Linked DNA regions of Homo sapiens: all the other regions are linked to region 2. The links are contacts of gene promoters, found by promoter capture Hi-C in blood cells and fetal thymus (Javierre and others, 2016). All regions are on one chromosome and are shown on one strand. The core of a region is centred on a gene start or on the middle of the fragment in contact, and the rest is flanking DNA. Distances in the headings are between cores, read along the strand shown.

The links. Contacts are between HindIII fragments. The CHiCAGO score rates a contact against its expected background, and 5 or more counts as called.
Region 1: a contact is called between a fragment that was not itself captured here and the fragment with the promoter of DNAJC10 in region 2, in 1 of 17 cell types (fetal thymus). The highest score is 5.3, in fetal thymus.
Region 3: a contact is called between a fragment that was not itself captured here and the fragment with the promoter of DNAJC10 in region 2, in 2 of 17 cell types (activated CD4 T cells and naive B cells). The highest score is 7.0, in activated CD4 T cells.

The regions. Positions count from the first base shown.
Region 1 is chr2:180,972,914-180,975,613 of GRCh38, forward strand. No RefSeq gene overlaps it. Among named protein-coding and RNA genes, the nearest start is that of UBE2E3, 6.3 kb to the right of the region's middle. The HindIII fragment of the contact is 9,383 bases long and covers 1-2,700 here.
Region 2 is chr2:182,714,823-182,717,522 of GRCh38, forward strand. It overlaps DNAJC10 (DnaJ heat shock protein family (Hsp40) member C10), which reads left to right and starts at 1,435. Exons shown (of 24, transcript NM_018981.4): 1 at 1,435-1,661; 2 at 2,194-2,250. It also overlaps a transcript of PDE1A not described here. RefSeq lists enhancers at 918-1,067, 1,088-1,157, 1,502-2,106 and a silencer at 1,668-1,827. The HindIII fragment of the contact is 1,821 bases long and covers 168-1,988 here.
Region 3 is chr2:180,991,915-180,994,614 of GRCh38, forward strand. The region is part of intron 3 of UBE2E3 (ubiquitin conjugating enzyme E2 E3); the gene reads left to right. Among named protein-coding and RNA genes, the nearest start is that of UBE2E3-DT, 12 kb to the left of the region's middle. The HindIII fragment of the contact is 173 bases long and covers 1,221-1,393 here.

The sequences.
Region 1 (2,700 bases), core at 92-2,591, 1.7 Mb before region 2:
TCAGACTCTTCATTTTACTGATAAAGAAACTGGCATCTAGAAGGCTGAAGCATTTTAACTAGGACTTAAACTTAAGATGCTGGGTTTCTGGGTCAATGACCACGATGTTTTGATAAAGTAGTAGAGAAAGTTGGACCAAATGTATAACAGTTTTATTTTCCATCAGTTCTTTTAAATTGCTCTGCCAATGAGTCTGAGATTGATTGAGGTGATTGATTTTAATCTTAACTGCCAGACTTTAGCTTTATAGAACACAGAACTTGATCTCTTCTACGCAGACATTTTATTAAGCAGGTTAGAAAAACTGTGCTGCTCTGCTACACTTTTAGAAAATAGCGTAAGTCTACAGTCCAGTACTCATTCTCTGATCATGATCTTATTAGAAATTGGGTGAGAAAATGTGGTCATTGTTCTCCCTGACATTTATCTCAGAGGTTAGAGTCATATACCAAACATCTTTAATTTATTTCACTGTATGAAACTACTGTCCTTTAATTTCTCTAAATACCTTTCAATTCCTGTATGCTTGGCCTATGCTGTCTTTAATGAAACTGGCTCCATAAATATATTAGGCAGTGTGAAAAGATAATTTTTCTTGTTGTTATTATTCCATAACATTTCCTTCAGTTGGCTCTCTCTGAGTGTGAATGAAGGTAACTTGGTCTCATTCAAGAATTATTTTACTAAATATTATATGCCACGTATGCCAATATACTGTCTTAGGCACAAAAAATGGATATGGGACCTTCCCTCCTTCTAGTAGGGGGAGAAAAATATTGCAGAAATAATCACACAAATAAATATTTACTTATAAATTGTGATAAGTCTTATCAAGAATATATAGGATGATTATATAGAGAATGATTATTACAGGATTACTGAACTTATACTACCATATTAGAGAAGGTCTCTTTCATGTTTATGAACAAAGATGCAAAAAGACTGTTAAAGTTATAATAACTTTCTGATGACAGTCTTTTGACAATCTCTACAGGAGCTGGTGACTTGGGAGACTGGACTCTGTGCCCTGGTAGATAGGACAGCATAGCAGAATGGGCATAGAATTCCAAAGTGCTTTGCACAGTTCTGTCAAGAGCTACCTTTAAGACTTTAGGAAAGTGATTTATTGTCTCTAATCCTTAATTTCATCGGTAGAAAAAGTCTAGTACCTCAACATCCTTTTCTGGATTATTAGTACTGATACTAAGTGGTCATTCCTTTATGAATCTAAGTTGGAGATGTTCCTTACCTCTACCACACAGAACATATATTCTTTTTGAAAATTCTGTATCACTGTTTTTTTAACTCATTCACATTACTCTGGGATATTTACTTTGTCTGAGTTATTTTGGGATATTATAATCCAGAGAAGTTAAAATCATATACACTTTGATATTTTACTAGGCATAAAAGATTTTTGAGATCTTTATAAATTATAATGAGCCTTTAAAATGGACCTGAATAAAACTAAAAGTCTTACTCTTGAAACAGAAACATTCTGTAAAAATATTTTGTTTTACTACTTTAGTTATATAGATGTTCAACTGGCACATAAGCCTGATTATCATATCAAATTAAACTACTTTATTTGCAGCCCCAAAAGAAAGCACACTACTCCTTATTGAGTCTTTTCTAATTAGATAACCATTTATGCAGTATGGAAGAGGTAGCCAGAATCACAAGCAATCAGGCTACTTATTCCAAAATAATTGTTTGCATATTTCTTCCAAATCTCTATTATACATTTTTCATCCATCATGGATACAACTTTGTTTTCTGAAGCAGAAAGGATACATTTAACCTGATTTTACAGAAGATGCTATAAGACATCTCAGAAAAATTTAAGTGACAATGTTAAGTAAAAATATAAGTTAAAAAATGATGTATGACACTTTTGTTAGTCTTTTTAACTAAGCAGGACATGAGCTGATTTCATAGAAAAGGATTTTCTGACAAGGAGGAATTGATAAACTGTTAGGTATAATACTCACCATTTTATATTCATGTATCATATTCTATCGAGTGAATGAACCATAATTTACCAAGCATAGTCCTTATGTTGGACAGTTTGAGTGGTTTCCATTTTTATATAGTATAAATTATACTGGGATAAACACTGTCAGGCATATAGCATTTAAAAAATATTTTGGATTATTTCCTTAGGATAGATTCCCAGAAGTAGAATTACTAGGTTAAAAGAGTATGAACATTTTTATGATTCTTGTAACACATTGCCAAATTGCTTCCCAAAAAGGTTATATCAATTTACAATGCCATCAGCAATATAGGAAAGTGCCCTTCTCATAATACTCCTCCAGGTATTTGGCATTACGGTTTTTAGATTTGCAAATTTTGAGGGCAAGAATGTTGCACCTCATTTTAATATATATTTCTTACATTTTTAAAGGCAAAGATAAATATTTTTACATGCAGCTTAATAACTTCGAATTTCTAACATGTTCTTTAACTATTTTGATATTTTTATAAGCCTATTCAGAATTATATGTGATATATACTAATCATTATTCATAGTATTATACAAACCATTTTATCTAGCCTGTTGTTTCAACTTGCTACATGTACATGGTTCCTTTAGGAAGGCATATTGAGGCTTCAATTTTTGTATCTGGTCAAATGCGTTGTTTCCTGTAATTTTTTGTGTTGTTGTTGCTTTTTAGCATAGTATATCCTAACTCTCTA
Region 2 (2,700 bases), core at 185-2,684:
TTCTGCGATTACAAGCGTGAGCCACCACACCCGGCCCACCACCTCTTAAAGCATTTACCCTATTTGTCTAACATTCTCCTGTTCTTTCTCCAGTTTTGTATGCTTTGCATCCTCTCTCCAATAGCTGCCAGGATGATCTAAAATACAATCTCAGTCTCTTTTTTAAAAGCTTCCTCATCACCTAAGAGATAGAAATCTATGTCTTCATCTTGGTATAAAAACCTGTCTGTGATCTGGTCCCTGCTTCATCTTCCAGTTTTCTGTTTGTTTTTCAATTTACTTTAAGATTTTGTTACAGTGTGTAACAAAATGGTTACACACTGTGTCATAATGCTTAACATCATAGTCTCTGAAGCCAGGTTGCTTAGATGTGAATCCTAGCTCTCAAATATTTGCCTCAGTTTCCTCAAATGGGAAATAGATATAGGAGCCACTATCTTGTAAGATTATTTGGAGGACTAAATGAGTTACTACATGTGTGCTTAGACCAGTTCCTGAGACATATTAACTACTATTACATCAGGCTGCTTCTAATGTTTGCCTTTGTTCATTCTACTTCCTCTTCTTTCCTACCAAGTATTAGCTTAGCCATAGATCCTGTGTAGTTTTCCAAGTTTTTAGAAGCTGACACTTGATTTACTCCCCGAAACTGTTACCAATCACAACTTATTTCATGTTAGGGTTGATGTTATAAGCAGGTATCCTCTAGGCTCGGTTTTCTCTTTTAAATATAGAAAATGTAGTAAATATAACCACTTCAATTGTTATATTGCTGTGGGACAAAATGCAGTTCCTGTACCATAGCAGTAGGAGATCAAGGTAAGAGAGAACAACGATAACTCCCCAGTTTCTAGCTTGTATGACTCAGAATCCAGAAAATATTGTAGAAGTCTCAAATGCTTGTTGATACACACGCTTACACAAAATTGTAAATGTTTTAATTTCCTTCAAGTTTCCTACTGCCTCTTCAGTCCGCTAGCCTGATACTGCAATCAGTGTCGCTTCAGGCAACTTCTCCTTTCTCCGCCAAATTTCGCCTTTCGGTCTCACCCACCCATCACCCAGACAAATCCTCCAAAGCTCCGTCTTCCCTTTAAAAGACTCTCAGGGAACTCAACCCCAAAACCCACCCTCTGGGTTTCCCCGTCACCCTGGCAACGGAAGCAGGAAGAGGCGGGCTTCGCCATCCACCCTCCCCGCCCGCGGCAGGCGCCGGCCGCATTGGTGAGGGGGCGCGGGCTGCTTGGCCAGGGCAGTTCCCTCAGCTCCGGGTTGGAGCCGGAGCCGGAGCCGGATCCCGCGCACACCGCCACGTCAACCTAAACCTACACCGCCCTCTCCACCCCACCGCCGCAGCGCCCGCTGGGCCCGCAGCGGGTCTCCCCAGGCAGCGTCCTCCACGCCTTTCCCACAATGCTCCGCGCCAGGCCCCGCCCCGGCTCGCCGTGGAGACCGGCGCGTGAGGAACCTACCGGTACCGGCCGCGCGCTGGTAGTCGCCGGTGTGGCTGCACCTCACCAATCCCGTGCGCCGCGGCTGGGCCGTCGGAGAGTGCGTGTGCTTCTCTCCTGCACGCGGTGCTTGGGCTCGGCCAGGCGGGGTCCGCCGCCAGGGTTTGAGGATGGGGGAGTAGCTACAGGAAGCGACCCCGCGATGGCAAGGTGGGCATGGGCCCGGGGCTAGGGCTTTGCTGGAGCCGGTGGTGGCCTGGGCCCTCCGGTCAGGGAGGGGCGGAATGGCTGAGCGCCTGAACCTCCCTTCCTGTGCGCTCTTAAGACCTGGATATTGTGTTCTCGCTCCCCACCTTCCTCCTCCCTGTTATTCACACCACCCTTCCTCTGCCCAGCGATTCCCTCTCAGTTACTTACACTTTCTCCCTAAGTCCGACCTGAGACTTCAGACACCAGCAACACTTAACAGCCCTGTTCCCCCGTGTCTTCATCTTTACCCCTCTCCCCTCTCCCACTCTGCAGTGATGGCAATGCGAAAGCTTGCGCCTTGCATTTACCTGGCGCTTCCACCTGCCCGGTAGCTCGGGCCACGGGCAGTTCGGCCACACCCACGCTGAGAACAACCCCTGGGCGAGAAACATCTTATCCCAAAGTGTTGATTGAGACTATGCCCTCTCTTTTTCTGATGGTTGTTTTCTTGTTTGGATACTTGTTAATCTCTACATCATTATATTTTTCAAAGGTATATTTTTGTGGAATGAAAAGGAAGTATTAGAAATGAGCTGAAGACCATTCACAGGTAAAGAGAAAAATTTTTAAATATACATTTAGGATTAAATGAAAAACAGAAATGAGGTGCGAGGAGCGTTAGATTTTTCAAAGCATTACGATCTCTTTGGAACTAAAATATAGTGGTTGAAATGTGATATGATGAAGTAATGATTGTTTTTGCCCTGCAGAGAGTATGTCTAAATAACCGATTCCCTTCTCTTTTTGTGTTTTGTTTCTACTTACACCAAACATGAACTTTGCAATAAAATTACACTGGTAACTTACAATTGTTTTTCTACTATTTTTAAAAAATGGCCTCTACTTAAATTCAGTATAAGCACCTTCTGAGGAAACTCCGGGAAGAAGATCGACTGCTGTGTAGATTGTCTATTATAACAATATATTTCACTGTCATTTCTGGTAGGGTTATATGAGAAGTAAAAAACCCTATGTTTCCTTCTAGTCCCTCCCAAGGACA
Region 3 (2,700 bases), core at 57-2,556, 1.7 Mb before region 2:
TAATATTTTTGGACTGTGGTTGACCTAGAGTAGCTGGAACTGTGGAAAGTGGAACTGCACAGATAGGTAGGGACTGCTCTGCTACTTCTGTTACGTGACCATGACTGAAATTACTTACTACTCATGATGAAAGGGTATTTTCATTTGCTTTGCTTTCTTTTTTACCTGTTTCCTAATAGCTGATTTTGGTTTCTCAGTTGTTGTTTTTGGTTTGTTGGGTTTTTTGTCTTGTAACTTGTATGCTTAAGAGTTCTTTTCTCTTAAGGTGAAACTATCAGTGTCTACTCGTTTTTAAGTTGTTCTTTGTTTACTGGGTTGTTTTTCCACTTTGCTTTCAAATACTCTTTTAATCATTCCATTCATTCTAGATACACAGTATTACACAGAAAGGAAGATAATCTTTAATTCTTAAACACAAGTATTAAGTAATACTTAATACTTTGGATGTATTTTGCCTTGCATTATTTAAGTGCAATTAGACTATAAAAGGAGATGTTAAATTTTTCTGGTTGTGTTGTGATTACAAACAAACCTAGAAGGCTCAGTGGCTCAATGTATAAAGATTTATTTCTCACTCATGTGAAGACCACTGTGGGTCCAGGGACTATCTTGGGCAGCTCTTCTCTGTGTTGACTTATATCTGTGTATCTTGTAGCTCTGACATTTGGAACATATGCCTCAAGCAATCCTCCCACCTCAGCCTTCCGAGTAGCTGGGACTACAGGCGCACCCCACCATGCCTGACTAACTTTTTTTTTCTTTTTGGAGACAGAGTCTCACTCTGTTACCCAGGCTAGAGTGAAATGGCGCAATGTCAGCTCACCGCAACCTCTGCCTCCCGGGTTCAAGCAATTCTCCTGCCTCAGCCTCCCGAGTAGCTGGGACTGTAGGCATGTGCCACCACACTCAACTAATTTTGTATTTTTTTTTTAGTAGAGACAGGGTTTCACCATGTTGATCAGGCTGGGATTTGCTTTTTCCAGTGAGTCTCTTTGGAAGAGTGGCTGCTCCACTTTACAAAACAGAACTAATGTTCTCAGGGCAACCTACCACATTTATATATTTCATTTTAAATTGATGACATTAATGAGTTTTATGAATCAAATATGTGCCTTGCATCTTGTCTAAATGCAGTAGTAAAGTTAAATTGTAAAGCCTTGGGATTTTTATCTCTGTTGACATTCTATCAGTTTTATAAGGGTGTATAGAGAAATAACAAAAGCTTGTTTATCACATCTGTTTTGGATGTGCCCGTCGGTAGGTGGTGATAAAGTAATACCAATAGTGAGGATCAGCTTAGGGTCATTCAATTTGTAAAAATCCCAGTTCCTTCTTTTTGGTCCTTGATGTATATAATACTTGTTTTAACTTTATGGTTATTCACAACAAATGAAGCTTTGAAAGGAACTGTGGTGTAGTCTGCCTTTTTTGGAAGCTTTTGGACTAGTTATGCCATTCCAAAGTTTTTTTGCTGCTTTAGTGTTCCAGAGCAAATATACTCTGTCATTCTGTTTAACTTCCAGCTTGTCTGGGGAAAAATAAAGACATCTCTAGTCCAAAATTGCTTTTGGGAGTATAGTTCCACATCTTTTGGTCTGAATGAAAGGCCTAGGGAAACATGAATTTTGTTACCTTTTTATTTTATTTTCCTTCACTTATAAATCATCATCATGATCCCCCTTTACATCCATGCGTCTCACTTTTTATAAACACTGTTTATTCCCTTTCTGAGGATGGTTATTTGTAGTTAGTTTTGCCATTTACAGTCTTATAGGTCCTTTACAAATGGATCATTTTCTCACATTAAATTCTAGTAGGTCAAGAATCCATTTATTCAGGGTCCCGAAGAGAATCGATCTCAGAAGATTGTGGCTACATATTTTTTATGGCTTCCTATTGCTTTCTGTAGTCTTCTTAATTTAAACAGTAGCAACAGCAAAATATAGAGGGTACCATAAGGCATTGGCTTTATGATTTATTCTTGCCTCATACTTGTTTCTTAGGGTATTGGTGTTATTTGTTAGATTTGTGATATATATGCTTGTACTAAATTTACCTGGTATCACAATGAGAAGAAACCTGGCATTTGAAGGCTTTGAACGCAAACTCAGAGACATGTAATTTATATGGAATTCAATGGCAGTTTTAACTAGTGTGCCTTTAATTTTTCTTCATTTTATGTTTACACCAGTGTCCTTGTAAAATTTTAAAAGACATTTTTCTCATCTTCCCAGGTGCTTACTATCCACATTTCCATTAGAAGATGCCAAATACTCATTTTCTTCTTTTGAAAACCCTAAAATAAGCACGTTGCAATTATCACTTTTCCCTTCTGCCGAGGTTTCTTAATTTTGGAGAACTTGAAACATATGCAAAAGTAAACAGGCTGGTATGATGAACCCCCATATATATAACCTTTATCCAGTTTCAGTAGTTACCTAATCATGGCTAATCTGGCTTCATCTATGCCTCCGTCCATTTCACCCTCCCATTATTACATTAAAAAAATCTCAGACATCATTTCATCTATATCTTAAAACATGCAAGTATTTCACTATGCACTTTCAAAAGATAAGACTCCTTTTAACCATTGTGACATCAGCATGCCTAAAAATTTTCAGTAGCTCCGTAATCAGTCATTGTTTAGGTTTACAAATGGGTGTTGTCCTTCCTTCCCCACAGTTATTTGAGTGAGGATAC